Linked DNA regions of Homo sapiens: all the other regions are linked to region 1. The links are contacts of gene promoters, found by promoter capture Hi-C in blood cells and fetal thymus (Javierre and others, 2016). All regions are on one chromosome and are shown on one strand. The core of a region is centred on a gene start or on the middle of the fragment in contact, and the rest is flanking DNA. Distances in the headings are between cores, read along the strand shown. Region 1 holds the start of LONRF1 (LON peptidase N-terminal domain and ring finger 1). Region 2 overlaps XKR6 (XK related 6). Region 3 overlaps XKR6 (XK related 6). Region 4 holds the start of LINC00529 (long intergenic non-protein coding RNA 529). Region 5 overlaps FAM167A (family with sequence similarity 167 member A).

Region 1 (2,706 bases), core at 114-2,613:
CTCTTTTTTATTCATTCCCTTTAGGGTAATATAACTCTGTCTTTTCTGACGTTACACGACTTGTTGATTGTGTAGTGAAAACACATGAACTCAAAACATTTTTTAGCCTTAATTGCCTGTTCCTTATAAAGAGAAATATTAAACGTTTACCAATTTCATACATAGCATGCTCAGGTGAACTTTCCAATTAGCAACTTCTTTTACTTTGAAAATCTCATATATTTCTATGAAATATTACATATTTTATTAAATATTACATATTAGTCTAACGTAGTAGTAGTGGAATAGACGTGATCTTAAAATCTGTATTAGCTGTGTGATTTTTGACAAATAACTTTCCCTGTGTTTCCAATCATTTGAAAAAGGACTAAAAGTCCTAAGTGACTTCCAACATTAGCGATCTAATACCCTATCATCAAATCTGTATTTTCAGCTGAGAGCTTTAAACTTGCTGCTGTGAAGTTTAAGGGAAATAGCACCCATTATATATCAACCCGATCATTTTCTTCTGTCAGCAAAACTGCAGAGCCAGCTTGGGTTGTAGTAATACGGTGACCGCCATGTGAAACATGTTTCTTGGTGTTTTCTTTTAAAACTGCCAAATATAGACCTTAACCAGCTGTAAGGCAGTGCTTGAGGTGTGGAGACACCTGAGGAAGCTGTGGGCTTTCTCCCTCGAGGTGGGCCCACGATGAGTTTTAAGCAAGACGGGCAAGCAGTCACCTGGCACCAGGAAAAACTCCTTGCCCTCTGGAGGGAGTCGCCCCAGGAACGTGGGTTTTTTGTTCATATTTAAAGTTGAGTCCTCTAGAACCGAAGAGTCCCAGTCATCTGCCGAAGGTGCGCTCCCAGGCCCCCTGCTTGGGCGCGCCCACCTGGAACATGGGCGTAGAGCTATGAAAATGCAGACCCGCACAAGCGCGAGGCCACGCGGGGAGACCCCCGCCCGCCAGGAGTTGGGGCAGGTCCGGCCTGGGCGGGGGCGTCGGGGGAGGGGTGGTGACCCGGAGTCCCGCGCGGCAGGGGAGCGTCCCCCAACCCCCGGCAGGGGCGAGGGCCACCGCAGGTGGCGGCGTTGGCAGACAGGCAAGCGGGGACTGAAGCTCCGGGGTCCTTCCGGCTTTGTTCCGTCACGAGCCGAGCCCTCCTTTCCGGAGAAGCCAATTAGATCTCCGACGGAGGAATCATCCGACCTGCGTCCCCCACCCGGAGGGGGCTCGGAAGGGGCGGGGCCCAGCGCTTGGCTCCTCGGGAGCGCGGCCGCGGGCGGCGTGGGGGAGTCCCGGGCGCCGTCGCCGAGCCCGGCCCCGCCCTCGCCAGGCCCCGCCCTCGGGGCTTCCCGGGCGCGCGCAGCCCCGCCGTGTCCGCGCGCCACGCCCCCCTGCTCGCGGGCCGCGTGCGGAGCCGCGCGCCCGGGAGGCTCCGGGACCGTGGCGGCGGGCGGCGGCGGCGCAGCCCTCCGCGGGCCATGTCCTCTCCGGCGGTGGCGAGGACCTCCCCAGGAGGGAGTCGGGAGATGGCCCCAGCGCCGCAGGGCCGAGGCCGGTTCTGGGAAGTGGGCGGCGGCAGCGGCCATCGGCTGGAGCGCGCGGCCGCGGAGTCGGAGCGCTGGGAGCTGCTGCTCCGCCGCGGGGAGCTGCTGGCGCTGGGCGGCCACCTGAAGGGCGCGCTGGAGGCGTTCGCGGCGGCGCTGCGCCGCGGGGCCCCGGCCAGGCCCGAGTGCCTGGGCGCCCTGGTGGACTGCCTGGTGTTCAACTACCGGCTCCGCCACGGGCTGGGCTGGAGCGCGGCCCCGGTTGCAGGCGCTGACGGCGGCGCCGGCGGGCTCCTCAGATGCCTGGGCTGCCGGGGCTTCCTGAGCGAGCCGGTGACCGTGCCCTGTGGCCACAGCTACTGCCGCCGCTGCCTGCGGAGGGAACTCCGCGCCCGCTGCCGCCTCTGCCGGGACCGGCTGCCGCCCGCCACCGCCAGTGCCACTGATGCTGAAGGGACCGCCCCGCGGCCGCCGCCTCTGGCCGCCGCCATCGCCGCTTCAGACTTCAGAACCAGCGTCGTCCTCAACCACCTGGCCGAGAAGTGGTTTCCGGGCCAGCGCGAGCGGGCCCGGGCGGCCGGCAGGCTCGGGGAGCTACTGCACCAGGGGCGCTACCGGGAGGCCCTGGCCGCCGCCTGCGAGGCGCTGCGAGCAGGTGACCGCGCGGGGATGCGGCGGGGCCGGGCCGACCGCACCCTCCTGGCCCCGAGGGCCGGGGACCCGGAGCTTGTCTGCGCCCCGAGAGTCTCCTCTGCTTCCCCGGGGCCGCTGGGCCGCTGGCGTGTCGGGTCTCGGGGTGCTGGGGGGTGTGGGAGGGGGCGGCGCCCCGGGGTGCTTCGGTCATAATGGGGATCGCCCTGGGAGCCGACTGTGACGCGGCGCGGGGAGGGGCGCTCGGCGCGGGGTTCCCTCGGCCGCGGCCTGGCTGTCGGGCGCGCGCTCCCGGCGCGGAGTGGGTGACCTGGACCGAGGCCGCCCCGGCGCGGGATGGGTGGTAGCTGGGCTATCCCGAGCGGCCGCTCGCTTCCTGCCGCGCGCTTTCCGGGAATTGGCTCTCGGGCCGGGCCCGCCGCGGGGAAACGACTGCCGGGGCGGGGAGAGAATCCCCCGCGAGGGCAACTAGGCCGGGCAGGCGGCGTCTCCCTTCCTCACCCACAAAAGTCACCGGGACA
Region 2 (2,706 bases), core at 122-2,621, 1.7 Mb after region 1:
TTCATTCTGCCAAACATGGGTGGGGAATTGGTATAAACATGAAGGTGCTGGTTTCCAAACCAGCTAGGGGAGGCCCTCCCATCCCCGCTAATTCTAGGAGCACTCAATTAATGGATGGGGACATTCCCACCAGCAACACAGATCCGGGGCCAGATCTAGGCACTGCAATTTTTAAAAAGGGGGCGTATTATATTATGTGTCTCAATGAATTTGTGGCAACAAATTGCTGGTACAAAGACAGTTAAGTCCTTTGCCATCTGGAACCCACCTCTGCCAGGCTGACCCAGACAGAGTCCCTAGAGGCAGCTGGGGAAACCTAACACATATCTCAAATAAACATGAGAGCCGGCATCCTGAAGCTTCACCTCTGTGGCCCTCAGGGTTCATGTTCTTAGATCTCACTTTGTGATGGGCTAAAGTAAACCTTCCTCCTGTCTCTCCTCTCCTCTCCTTAAAGGAGAAACCTTTAGAAAACCACATGGTGGTGAAGGTCAGCCTCCTCAGCCTCATCTTAGAGACCATGGGCAAGTCCTTCAACCTGTCCAAGCCATGGTGCCCTTGTCTGTACAATGAAGATATAGATGGTATCTGCTCTTAGGGTCACTATGAGGATTAAATGCCTCATGGTGTTAAGGGCTTAATACATGTTAGCTTGGAAACTCCTGTTCTCATCTGAGCTTGGCACCCAACCTGCTGTGTGACCTTGGGAAATTCACTTCCCCTCCCTGGGCCTCGTTTCATCTTCAAGCCGAAGGATAAGGCATGTCTACAGGCAAATATCTTGTTAGAGCTCTCATGACTCTTACATGCCAAGATACTACAACTTGGCAAGACACCACCTTTTTCCTTGGGGTATCTGGGATGTCAGCAAGGCATTGGACGAAAAGTGTCCTGAAAGTGCAGAAGCTTGTTAGAATGGAGTTGCATTTATTATGGCCATTGATTAGACATGGCCTGACATGGGATAAAATGTATTAGTTTGTGGCAGTTAATGAGCTGTTAGTGTACTTCTGGATGTGTTACATCGGGGCCAGGATGAATCCAAAGAAAAGATTAAAACAAGATTAGCCCAGAAAAAAGGAGGGGATGCAGATTGGAGGAAAAGGAGAGGACAGTGGAGGGGGCCTGCAAGCTAGGGGGAGGTGAGGGGGGCACTTTTTCTATAGTTTACATTTCCCAGCTCTTTTCCTCCCCCATGGTACTGGAAATGTCTGGGTAGACTAGGGATGTAGCCAGGGACTGCTGTCGATGGTGATGGTGATGGTGATGATAATAGCAGCCGTAACAACTACACTCACAATGATAGATACTAACAGTTATTGAACTCCTGCCACATGCAAATGGTGTTATGAACACTTTACATGTATTAACTCATTCAGTTTTTCTTAAGATATAGGTGCTGTCATTATCCCCATTTTACAAATAAGAAATGGAGAGCCAGAAAGGTTAGGTAACTTGCCAGGTTAAATTTATCTGCATAGCAGTTCCCTAGCAGCTGAGGTCCCAAAGGGGCTTGGGGGTTCATTACTGCCCCTTCTGTCCCCATGCTGGCTGTCAGGGCTGGGGAGTGGGGTGGGGTCCTGTGACCTGAATGACAGATGAGTGGTAGCTTCTGCAGTGCTGGCCCTGGGCACAGTTGAGGTAGGCGGACTCCTCCATCTGCTTAGATGGGGACTGCGAGGCCCTGCCTGTTGTGTCCCAAATTCTCCTCTTCAGAGTCCTTAGTGGGGCTGAGAATAGCTCAGGGCTCCTGTCACAGACATGTGGACACCCCACCTGTGGAAGCATTTTGGCTCATTTGTTCCCTGCCACCTCCTGCACCATCTCCAAGCTTGTGGCTTCCAGCAGGTGCACACCTGAGCTGCCACACTGCACTGGCCTCCCTCCCTCATGCTATCCCCCTCCCCAGTGCCATGTGCTGCCCTGCAGTGGACCCAGAAGCAAGTCCCAGCTCTTAGCTCAATGGCTTCTGCCTGAAATATTCTTCTCCTGTCACTCCCACAACCAGTTCCCTTCCTCCTTCAGCTCTTTACTCAAACATCTTTTGAGGCCTTCCCGCATCGCAGCCTCTGTCCCCAGGCATTCCCTGTCCCTTTCCCTGCTCTATCCTTCTCTGCAACACTTATTGCCATCTCTATTACTTACCTATTTGTTTGCTGTCTCTTTCGTGTTAGATTAAGTTCCACATAGCCAGAGGTTTTTGTCCTGTTTCTTCTCTGCTGTTTTCTTAGTGTCTGGAATAGACGTGGCACTTAGAAGAAACTCTGTAAATATTTGTTGAATGAATGAATGAACAAATAAAAAATGAAGGAAAATGTTCAGGACCCTCCTCAGCCTGGTGCTCACCTGCTTTCCAGCCTCGTCCGCTGTGTACCTGTACCCTTCTGGTGACAGCCTATCCACTCTGTCACTGCAGAGCAGGATGCCACCTCCCCCGGGAAGCCTTGCTGGCCACCCCAAGAAGGGCTTCCTTTCTGGTGGTTCCTGTGCCTCTCCTGCGTGCTGTGTGATGGCACTGATGTCACTGTATTGTTGAAATGCTTGTTTCTGTGCTAGTCCATTCCTGTAGGTGGGGACTCCTTGAAGCAGGGACAGTGATGTAGGGAAAGGAGCATGAGTTTGGAGCCAAGTTCAAATCCCAGCTCTGCTGATGACTGCTGTAGGACTTCAGGCAAGTTACTGAGCTGGCCCAAGCCTCAGCTTTCT
Region 3 (2,706 bases), core at 67-2,566, 1.6 Mb after region 1:
TTTTTGTCAGAAGTACTGCTTTCTTCATGTTGGCATCATATCAGTAGGCGCCCCATACGTGTTTTGTCCCACTATTAGTGATGCTAAGTTTTATCCCTTGGTTAAGGTTGCGACTGCCAGATTTCTTTATATAAAGGTAGTTTTTCCCTTGGCAATCGGTAGGTAACTTGTGGGGTCATATGTTAGCAAAGTATCAGTGTCTCTTTTCCTAAATACCGTTTACCTTATGGTTTTAGTGTCTTTTGGGAATCCTTGCCGGAATCAATTATTAAGTAGTTGTTGTTGGTGGGTGTATGTGTTTTAAACAGGCTCCCTGGTAATTCTAACCTTTAAGGTTTGATAGCCACTGCTGTCCTATTAATAGAACTAGGAGCTGAGTTATCAGGTCTGTTGAATGGGTTGCCAGTAAACAGTTAATGAGTTTAAGCTTCGTGTTCATTTTAGAGAAACTAAGATCAATAAAGTGCCTCCTAAGGCCCCCTATGTCCTAGTTTAGTTGTTGGAGAGGACATGTGTGTGATACTTGCAGTAAACTTGAGGTGAGCCCTGCTAGTGTGTTAGAATGTATGACAAAAATCCAAGGAGAGTGGAGGAGGCGTAGAGAAATTACTAAGGAGGAAAGGAAACTATATTGAATATTCTGTTTATATATATAGTCTCACTTAATTTTCACAAGCATTTTGTGCCCATTTTACAGATGAAGAAGTGAGCTTAAAGTGATAAAGTAACCTATGGCACTGGTGGAGGAAACTTTTGAAGCCAGAGCTCACAGAGCTGTGGGCGGGACAGAATTAGTTTGCTTTACCTCTGGGACGTTGTTGTCTGGCTTATTGAAGATGGAGGAATGATATTCTTCAACCTCTGGGGCCTCTTGGTATATAAGCTGAGGTTCTTTGAGACCTCTGATGTCTAGTCTAATGTGTTAATATTAAACTCTGCAGAGCTTAGGGTAGGCTTGTAAGTCTTGTAGTTGATTGTAACTGCTGATGAATCAAACAGCTGAGTAATATTAATACCTCTGGGTCTGTGTCTTAGGACACAGTTTTCAGTACCTCACTCCATTCTCTTTCTCAGGGTAGATGCACCTTACAACCCCGTGACTTCCACATTACACAAAGGAATATGTAGGTTTGGCATACCCCACAGGTCCCATGTAAATACTGCACTCAAATATGTTGGTTCTCTGTTGACCTGTTGGAAACATTGAGAACAGCAGTTGTATCCCAAGGATATAAAGAAGCTGTTTTCTTTTCTTTTCTTTTATTTTCCTTTCTTTTCTTTTCCTTTCCTTTCTTTTCTTTTCTTTTTTCTTTTTTCTTTTCTCTTTCTTTCTTTCTTTCTTTTCTTTCTTTCTTTCTTTCTTTTCTTTCTTTTCTTTCTTTCTTTTTTTTTGGGACAGTTTCACTCTTGTTGCCCAGGCTGGAGTGCGGTGGCGCGATCTCGGCTCACTGCAACCTCTGCCTCCTGAGTTCAAGTGATTCTTCTGCCTCAGCCTCCCACGTAGCTGGGATTACAGGCATGAGCCACCATACCCGTCTAATTTTTGTACTTTTAGTAGAGAAAGTGTTTCACCATGTTGGTCAGGCTGGTCTCGAACTGCTGACCTCAGGTGATCTGCCCTCCTTGGCCTCCCAAAGTGCTGGGATTACAGGCGTGAGCCACTGCACCCGTCCAAAGCAGCTGTTTTCAAACCTTGGCTGTGCATCAGAATCACTTGAGGAGCCAGATATTTGAGATCTACCATAAGAGACTGTAATCCAAGAGATCTGGGATGGGCCCAAGAATCTATATATTTAAAAAATCTAGGTTTTCAGAAAGTTCCCTAAGCAGTACACAGACAGGGATGAGAAGCATAGTTGTACAGGCTGATTTCTGCCAATATCTATGAGTTAGTTATCAAGGAGAAGGAGCATATGTTAGAATTGCTTGGGAATTTGTTTTTTGTTTTTGGTAAACTTTTTATCACTAGGCATCTTAGATTTAGAGGGGCGGAATGGATAAAAGAAGGTCCTCAGGTGATTCTAATGGATTACCAGTATTTAAACAATCTGAATGGACCTTTTAGCTGGAGTGGCTTGGCAAAAAGTCTGTATTAACCAAAGAGTTGCTGTTGCCATATATTATGCCTGGATTTAGAATGCAGGAAAGACATTTAACATTAAAATTATGACATATAATTGAGGATTCCTTTGATCCAAAAGCTTCTTTCTTTGGAAGTTTGAAGTATTTCAAGGTCATTATTATGAACACAGATGATCCCCATTGGTGCTCAGAAGTGCCAGGTTAGAGGCATTTTATTATGCTTGGAAATTGATATTTCAATCCAGTGAATTTTGTGTCTCAAATTCAGAAATGTTATATTTGTTGTAATCAGTGCCAAGGATAAGATTCCTAAAAAGAAACTGGTGAATGAAAGAGGAGACATGACCTAATAGATACTGAGTGTCATTAGAGACAGGAAAGAAGGGAGCAGAGAAGAAAAATGGCCTACCTACATTTTGCTTGATAGATTCGTGGGGAGAACAGCCAGGAGAGGGGATGAGGGGGAGTTGGATGGTGTTTACTGGTAAGATATTAGTGTGGCACATCAGCAAGCATCCCTGCATCTGTGCACACTCAATACCTTCCCTTTGCACTCCACCTAGAAATGTACATGGGGATGGTGAGAAAATCCGAGAACCTTGTAACGGAGAAGCTCAGGGCCAG
Region 4 (2,706 bases), core at 129-2,628, 1.5 Mb after region 1:
GAAACTCGGAAGACGCGGAAGTCGCAGCCGGAAGTTGGTCCTCGCTAGGTCCTCTGGAAATGCCTCCGGAAACACAGCCAGACCAGAAGATGTGTGTTCCTACGAGAAAAAAAGCTTGTCTTTGCCTTCACGCCCTCCCGCTGCCTTTCTTAACCACCTACAAATATTCCTTATCAGAAGAGGTCCGGGAAGAGGGAGGAGGTCCCTGTCTTGCCTTCCTCCGCTTGAGTAGTATCCCCTCCAGAAGCTCTTCAGAGCGTGGGGCTGCTGTAAATTGTGATAATTGTTATGCATTAGCCCTGAAGACATGGCAAGTAGGGGATGGAGGCGGTGACTGTGACCTTACGGAATCCTCCAGGGGTCAGGGAGGGACACAGGGCCACTCCACAGGCTCTCCGAGAGCGCCGCGCCACGAGGTGTAACCTGGAGCAAGAAAGAGGAAAAACAGGAATACCTGTGAGAGGAACCCAAGTACATGCAGTGCACAGAAGAGCAAGTCACTTGACTTGCTGGCGGCCACCCCGTTAATCTGCAGCAGAGCCTGGACTTCAGTCTGCATCTGTGAAACCCAGCGCATGGGTGCGTTGGTCACCACCGCACAGCCTCCCCGTCAGACACCCACGTTTCGCCAAAAATTTATTCAAATAATTACTCCTTTGCTTGTTCCTTTCCCACCGCCCACTTCTGACATTTTTATTCAAAAGTAGGAAATAGAAGAGAAATATGTTTGAGTGCTGGTCTGCTGTGACTTCATTGACCTTTTAAATCCTCACCATCTAGTACCTAAGCACAGCGAGTTGGACAAACTCTCACAGTATTCACAAAGTAAATTGCCACAACCTCATCAGCTCATCCAACACTTGTCCATGCTTTTGATTTTGTCCTTCTTAAAATGTACCCTTCTTAAAATAAACCACTTTATAGACTTGTTTTAAGTGAGATACGTAAATGCCTACCAACTTTCCTTGGTGTCTTTGTTGCATAGTTACTGTAGACTGAATAATAGTTGCCATTTTTTATATTTTTGCAGTTTAATTGCTTTCGTCCAAATAGATGGAATCACTTCCTTTGTAATATATGAAGTGTTTTAATTCATTTTTATAACTAGCATTCCTGACAGCACAGGTATCCACCCCCTGAAGTTCCCATTCTATAGAACAAAATAGCAAATAAGTATTTTTTTTTTGTTCCATAATGGACACCCAGTATACACCCAGTATACACAGGGACACCGCATACAGGGAATCAGCTTTATTTTACAACAGAGCTTCACTTTACCCCTCTGGCAATTAATAGATTCTGGGTATTTATTAAGAACTTTAAATTTAATGCAAAGACTGTTAAATACCACCAGCTCAGCTCTGGCAAAGGACTGTTGGCTTTGTTTATCTCCTATCTTCATCCAGATACACTGCCATCCCTATCCCAGCCCGATCTTGGGTCCTTGAAAAAAATGACCTATCATTCCAACTACCAGGGAGGAACTCCCTTTGAATTAATGAATCTGGATGACTTATAAGACTTCAAAAGTATGGAAATGACAAAGGTTAAAATGACAGGATGAGCAGTAAACCCTCTCCAGTCCAATCAGAGCAACCTTTTTGAGGGTGCATTCCCACAGAAACCCATTAGGGGCCCAACATCAACATACACAGAGCTAAAATTCCAGATGCCACTTTGTATTGAAAGAAGCCAAAATTCTGTTCAGGTCGTGGGAACTTGAAGTCTTCAATGCAACCACACCCCAGAAATTAACCCTCACACAATCATGTAAGCTATGCAATTAACCAAACTGCATCGTTTAGAAAACCTGTATGCTTTTCATGGAAACCATCCCTAGTTAAGGGCACTTTAAAGGATGCACAGTCTAAGTACTGTGAAGGTGGGCCCACTAGCTGGGTTGACATTTTCGCTTGGCCACTTTAGTAGGAAACTTAACCACTTGGGAAAGTGAAAACAACAAGCTAACCCACATGTTCACCATGGAAAACAATTTTTGTCTTGAAAAACAAGGAACCTTTTCCCTGTGCAGCACCAGTTCCTACTGTGTTTACCAGCCAATTGGACTGGAACCTGTACACTTGGTTTTTAGCCTCCGAAATCAATATAGCTCCCGGCCGGGCGCAGTTTCTCACGCCTATAATCCCAGCACTTTGGGAGGCCGAGGCAGGCGGATCACCTGAGGTCAGGAGTTCGAGACCAGCCTGGCCAACATGCTGAAACCCTGTTTCTACTAAAAATACAAAAAATTAGCCGGGTATGGTGGCGCACACCTGTAATCCCAGCTACTCTGGAGACTGAGACAGGAGAATCACTTGAACCCTGGAGACAGAGGTTGCAGTGAGCCAAGACTGAGCCACTGTGCTCCAGCCTGGGTGACAGAGGGAGACTGTCTCAAAACAAACAAACTATATATATATGTGTATATATATATATATATTTAGAGAGAGAGAGGGAGAGCTCTCAACAACCAATCCCTCATTATACCTTTAACTGCAACCGCCAGACACAAATGAGCAATCCAACTCAAACGCCTTTTTGTTGGGCTAGGAATAACAGTGAGAGCAGGAACGGGAGTTACCGGGCTTGCAACTTCCCTATACTGTTACCAGCACTTTCCAAGGATTTTGTGGAAAGCTTGGATGACATTGCCCAAAGTATCGTCACAACACAAACTCAAACAGACTCCTTGGCAGCAGTTGCTTT
Region 5 (2,706 bases), core at 148-2,647, 1.3 Mb after region 1:
GAGCTTTCAGGCAGTGCAGGGCCTAGCTCGCCAGTGAGGGCCAAAGACAAGGACAAAGGGCCAGATGGACTGCCCAGAAAGTCCTCTTCATTCATTCATGTACCCACTCTCTTACTCAGCAAGTTTCCTGAGCACCCGCTGTGTGCCGGGCACTGCTCTGAGTGCCGGGGTCACAGTCAGGAACAGAATTCGGAAGCCCCTGCCTGCTAGGAGCTGGCATCCTCAAGGGTGGGACACACAGACACCAACAAACATCACGGAGTAAGTGATGAGCTCCGGAAGCACCAGGAAGGCGAGCGCTGGGCTCCATCCTGTGGCCCAGGCTGGGGTTTGCGTGGAGATGAGGTTCAAGCAGAACCAGGCATGAAGCAGCCAGCATATGACATTGTGGCACAGCATCAATGTCCTTCAGAAGAGACTGCCGAGTTCTCACAAGGGTGTGCAGCAGGGAGGGGAAACCCCGGCAGCAAACAGGAGGCTTCCAGGAAGGGGGAAGGCTAGTGCTGTCCTGGCTGGACATGTGCCAGAGGGAATGCTTACCCGGCAGGGTAGACCACAGGGGTGCTTGGAGAAAACCCCAGGAGCGCTGTCCTGTGGAGCCCTGATCCCACCCACACCCCTAACCCAGCCCCGCCCACTTCCCCAACCCAGCCCCGCCCATTTCCCCAACCCAGCCCCGCCCACTTCCCCAACCCAGCCCCACCCACTTCCTTAACCCAGCCCCGCCCATACCCCTAACCCAGCCCCGCCCACTTCCCTAACCCAGCCCCACCTACATCCCTAACCCAGCCCCGCCCACTTCCCTAACCCAGCCCCGCTCATACCCCTAATCCAGCCCCACCCACTTCCCGAACCCAATCCCCCCATTTCCCTAACCCAGGGCCCAACTCACTTCCCTAACTCAGCCCTGCCCACTTCCCTAACCCAGCCCCACCCACGTCCCTAACCCAGCCCCACTCACTTCCCTTAGCCAGCCGCACTCCCCTAATCCAGCACCACCCACGTCCTTCACCCAGCCCCGCCCATGTCTCTTACCCAGCCACACCTACATCCCTAACAGCTCTGCACATGTCACTAACTCAGCCCTAGCCATACCCAGAGCACACACCCAATAGAGCAACCACCTCACACTCGTATATTCACACACCTAGCAGGGCAGCTACCCACACTCTCACACTCATCCACCCAGCAATGCAACCACCCCCCACACTCACACTCACACACCCAGCAGGGCAGCCAGCCCCCACACTCACACTCACACACCCATCAGGGCAACCACCCCCCAAGCACTCACACATACAGCAGGGCAAGTACCCACACTCACACACTCATACACCCAGCAAGGCAACCACCCCCCACACTCACACACACACCAGGCAGGGCAACCACCCCACACACACACCCAGCAGGGCAACCACCCCACACTCACACCCATACACACCCAGCAGGGCAACCACCTCACACTCACACTGATACCCACAAGGCAACCAACCCTTACACTCACACACACAGCAAGGCAACCACCCCCCACACTCACTCACACTCACACAGCAAGGCAACCACCCCCCACATTCACACACACACACAGCAAGGCAACCACCCCCCACATTCACACACACACACAGCAAGGCAACCACCTCCCACATTCACACACACACACAGCAAGGCAACCACCTCCCACACTCACACTCACACACAGCAAGGCAACCACCCCACACTCACACTCATACCCAGCAGGGCAACCACCCTACACTCCCACTCATACCCAGAAGGCAACCACCCCCCACACTCACTCACAGCAAGGCAACCACCCCACATTCACGCACACCCAGCAGGGCAACCACCCCTCACACTCACACTCACACTCTGCAAGGCAACCACCCCACACTCACACTCATACCCATAAGGCAACCAACCCTCACACTCACACTCATACACAGCAAGGCAACCACCCAACACTCACACAACCCCAGCAGGGCAACCACCCCCAATACACTCACACTCATGCACAGCAAGGCAACCACCCCCGACACTCACACACTCATACACCCCGCAGAGCAACCATCCCCCACACCCACACTCACATTCACACACAGCAAGGCAACCACCCCCAACACTCACACCCAGCAGAGCAACCACCCTGCACACTCACACTCAGGTGAGGCAACCATCCCACACTCAAACTCAAAGCAAGGCAACCACCCCCCACACTCAGACTCACACACCCAGCAGGGCAACCACCCCACACACTCACACTCACACACCCATCAGGGCAACCACTCCCCACACTCACACATACCCAGCAGAGCAGCCACCCCCCACACTCACACACACCCAGCAGAGCAGCCACCCCCCACACTCACAATCACACTCACGCAAGGCAACCATCCCACACTCACACTCCTCACACTCATACACAGCAAGGCAACCACCCCCCACACTCACACACACCCAGGAGGGTAACCACCCCCCCCAGACACACACAGAGCAAGGCAACCACCACCCACACTCACACAGCAAGGCAACAACCCCACCACAGTCACACACACACACAGAGCAAGGCAACCACCACCCACACTCAGCAAGGCAACAACCCCACCACAGTCACACACACACACACGCACACACACATATCCCAGCAACCCATCCCTGCCACGTGCAGCACTGGGGCCGGGGTCAGGTCTCGGCAGGATGTCATCTCCATGT

The links. Contacts are between HindIII fragments. The CHiCAGO score rates a contact against its expected background, and 5 or more counts as called.
Region 2: a fragment that was not itself captured here is called in contact with the fragment with the promoter of LONRF1 in region 1 in 1 of 17 cell types (naive CD8 T cells); the score reaches 5.5 in naive CD8 T cells.
Region 3: a fragment that was not itself captured here is called in contact with the fragment with the promoter of LONRF1 in region 1 in 1 of 17 cell types (naive CD8 T cells); the score reaches 5.3 in naive CD8 T cells.
Region 4: a contact is called between a fragment that was not itself captured here and the fragment with the promoter of LONRF1 in region 1, in 1 of 17 cell types (total CD4 T cells). The highest score is 6.4, in total CD4 T cells.
Region 5: a fragment that was not itself captured here is called in contact with the fragment with the promoter of LONRF1 in region 1 in 1 of 17 cell types (monocytes); the score reaches 5.1 in monocytes.

Annotation. Positions count from the first base shown.
Region 1 is chr8:12,754,183-12,756,888 of GRCh38, reverse strand. It overlaps LONRF1 (LON peptidase N-terminal domain and ring finger 1), which reads left to right and starts at 1,363. Exons shown (of 12, transcript NM_152271.5): 1 at 1,363-2,189. The coding sequence starts at 1,469. RefSeq lists silencers at 865-1,534, 1,615-1,954, 1,958-2,148, 2,045-2,584, 2,635-2,706 and an enhancer at 1,070-1,889. The HindIII fragment of the contact is 11,195 bases long and covers 1-2,706 here.
Region 2 is chr8:11,011,062-11,013,767 of GRCh38, reverse strand. All of the region lies in intron 1 of XKR6 (XK related 6), which reads left to right. Among named protein-coding and RNA genes, the nearest start is that of MIR598, 23 kb to the left of the region's middle. The HindIII fragment of the contact is 925 bases long and covers 909-1,833 here.
Region 3 is chr8:11,188,842-11,191,547 of GRCh38, reverse strand. The region is part of intron 1 of XKR6 (XK related 6); the gene reads left to right. Among named protein-coding and RNA genes, the nearest start is that of XKR6, 12 kb to the left of the region's middle. The HindIII fragment of the contact is 1,774 bases long and covers 430-2,203 here.
Region 4 is chr8:11,281,724-11,284,429 of GRCh38, reverse strand. It overlaps LINC00529 (long intergenic non-protein coding RNA 529), which reads left to right and starts at 399. Exons shown (of 5, transcript NR_170283.1): 1 at 399-579. RefSeq lists enhancers at 1-130, 406-465, 556-645. The HindIII fragment of the contact is 2,523 bases long and covers 117-2,639 here.
Region 5 is chr8:11,455,054-11,457,759 of GRCh38, reverse strand. The region is part of intron 1 of FAM167A (family with sequence similarity 167 member A); the gene reads left to right. Among named protein-coding and RNA genes, the nearest start is that of FAM167A, 10 kb to the left of the region's middle. RefSeq lists silencers at 643-702, 853-952. The HindIII fragment of the contact is 4,689 bases long and covers 1-2,706 here.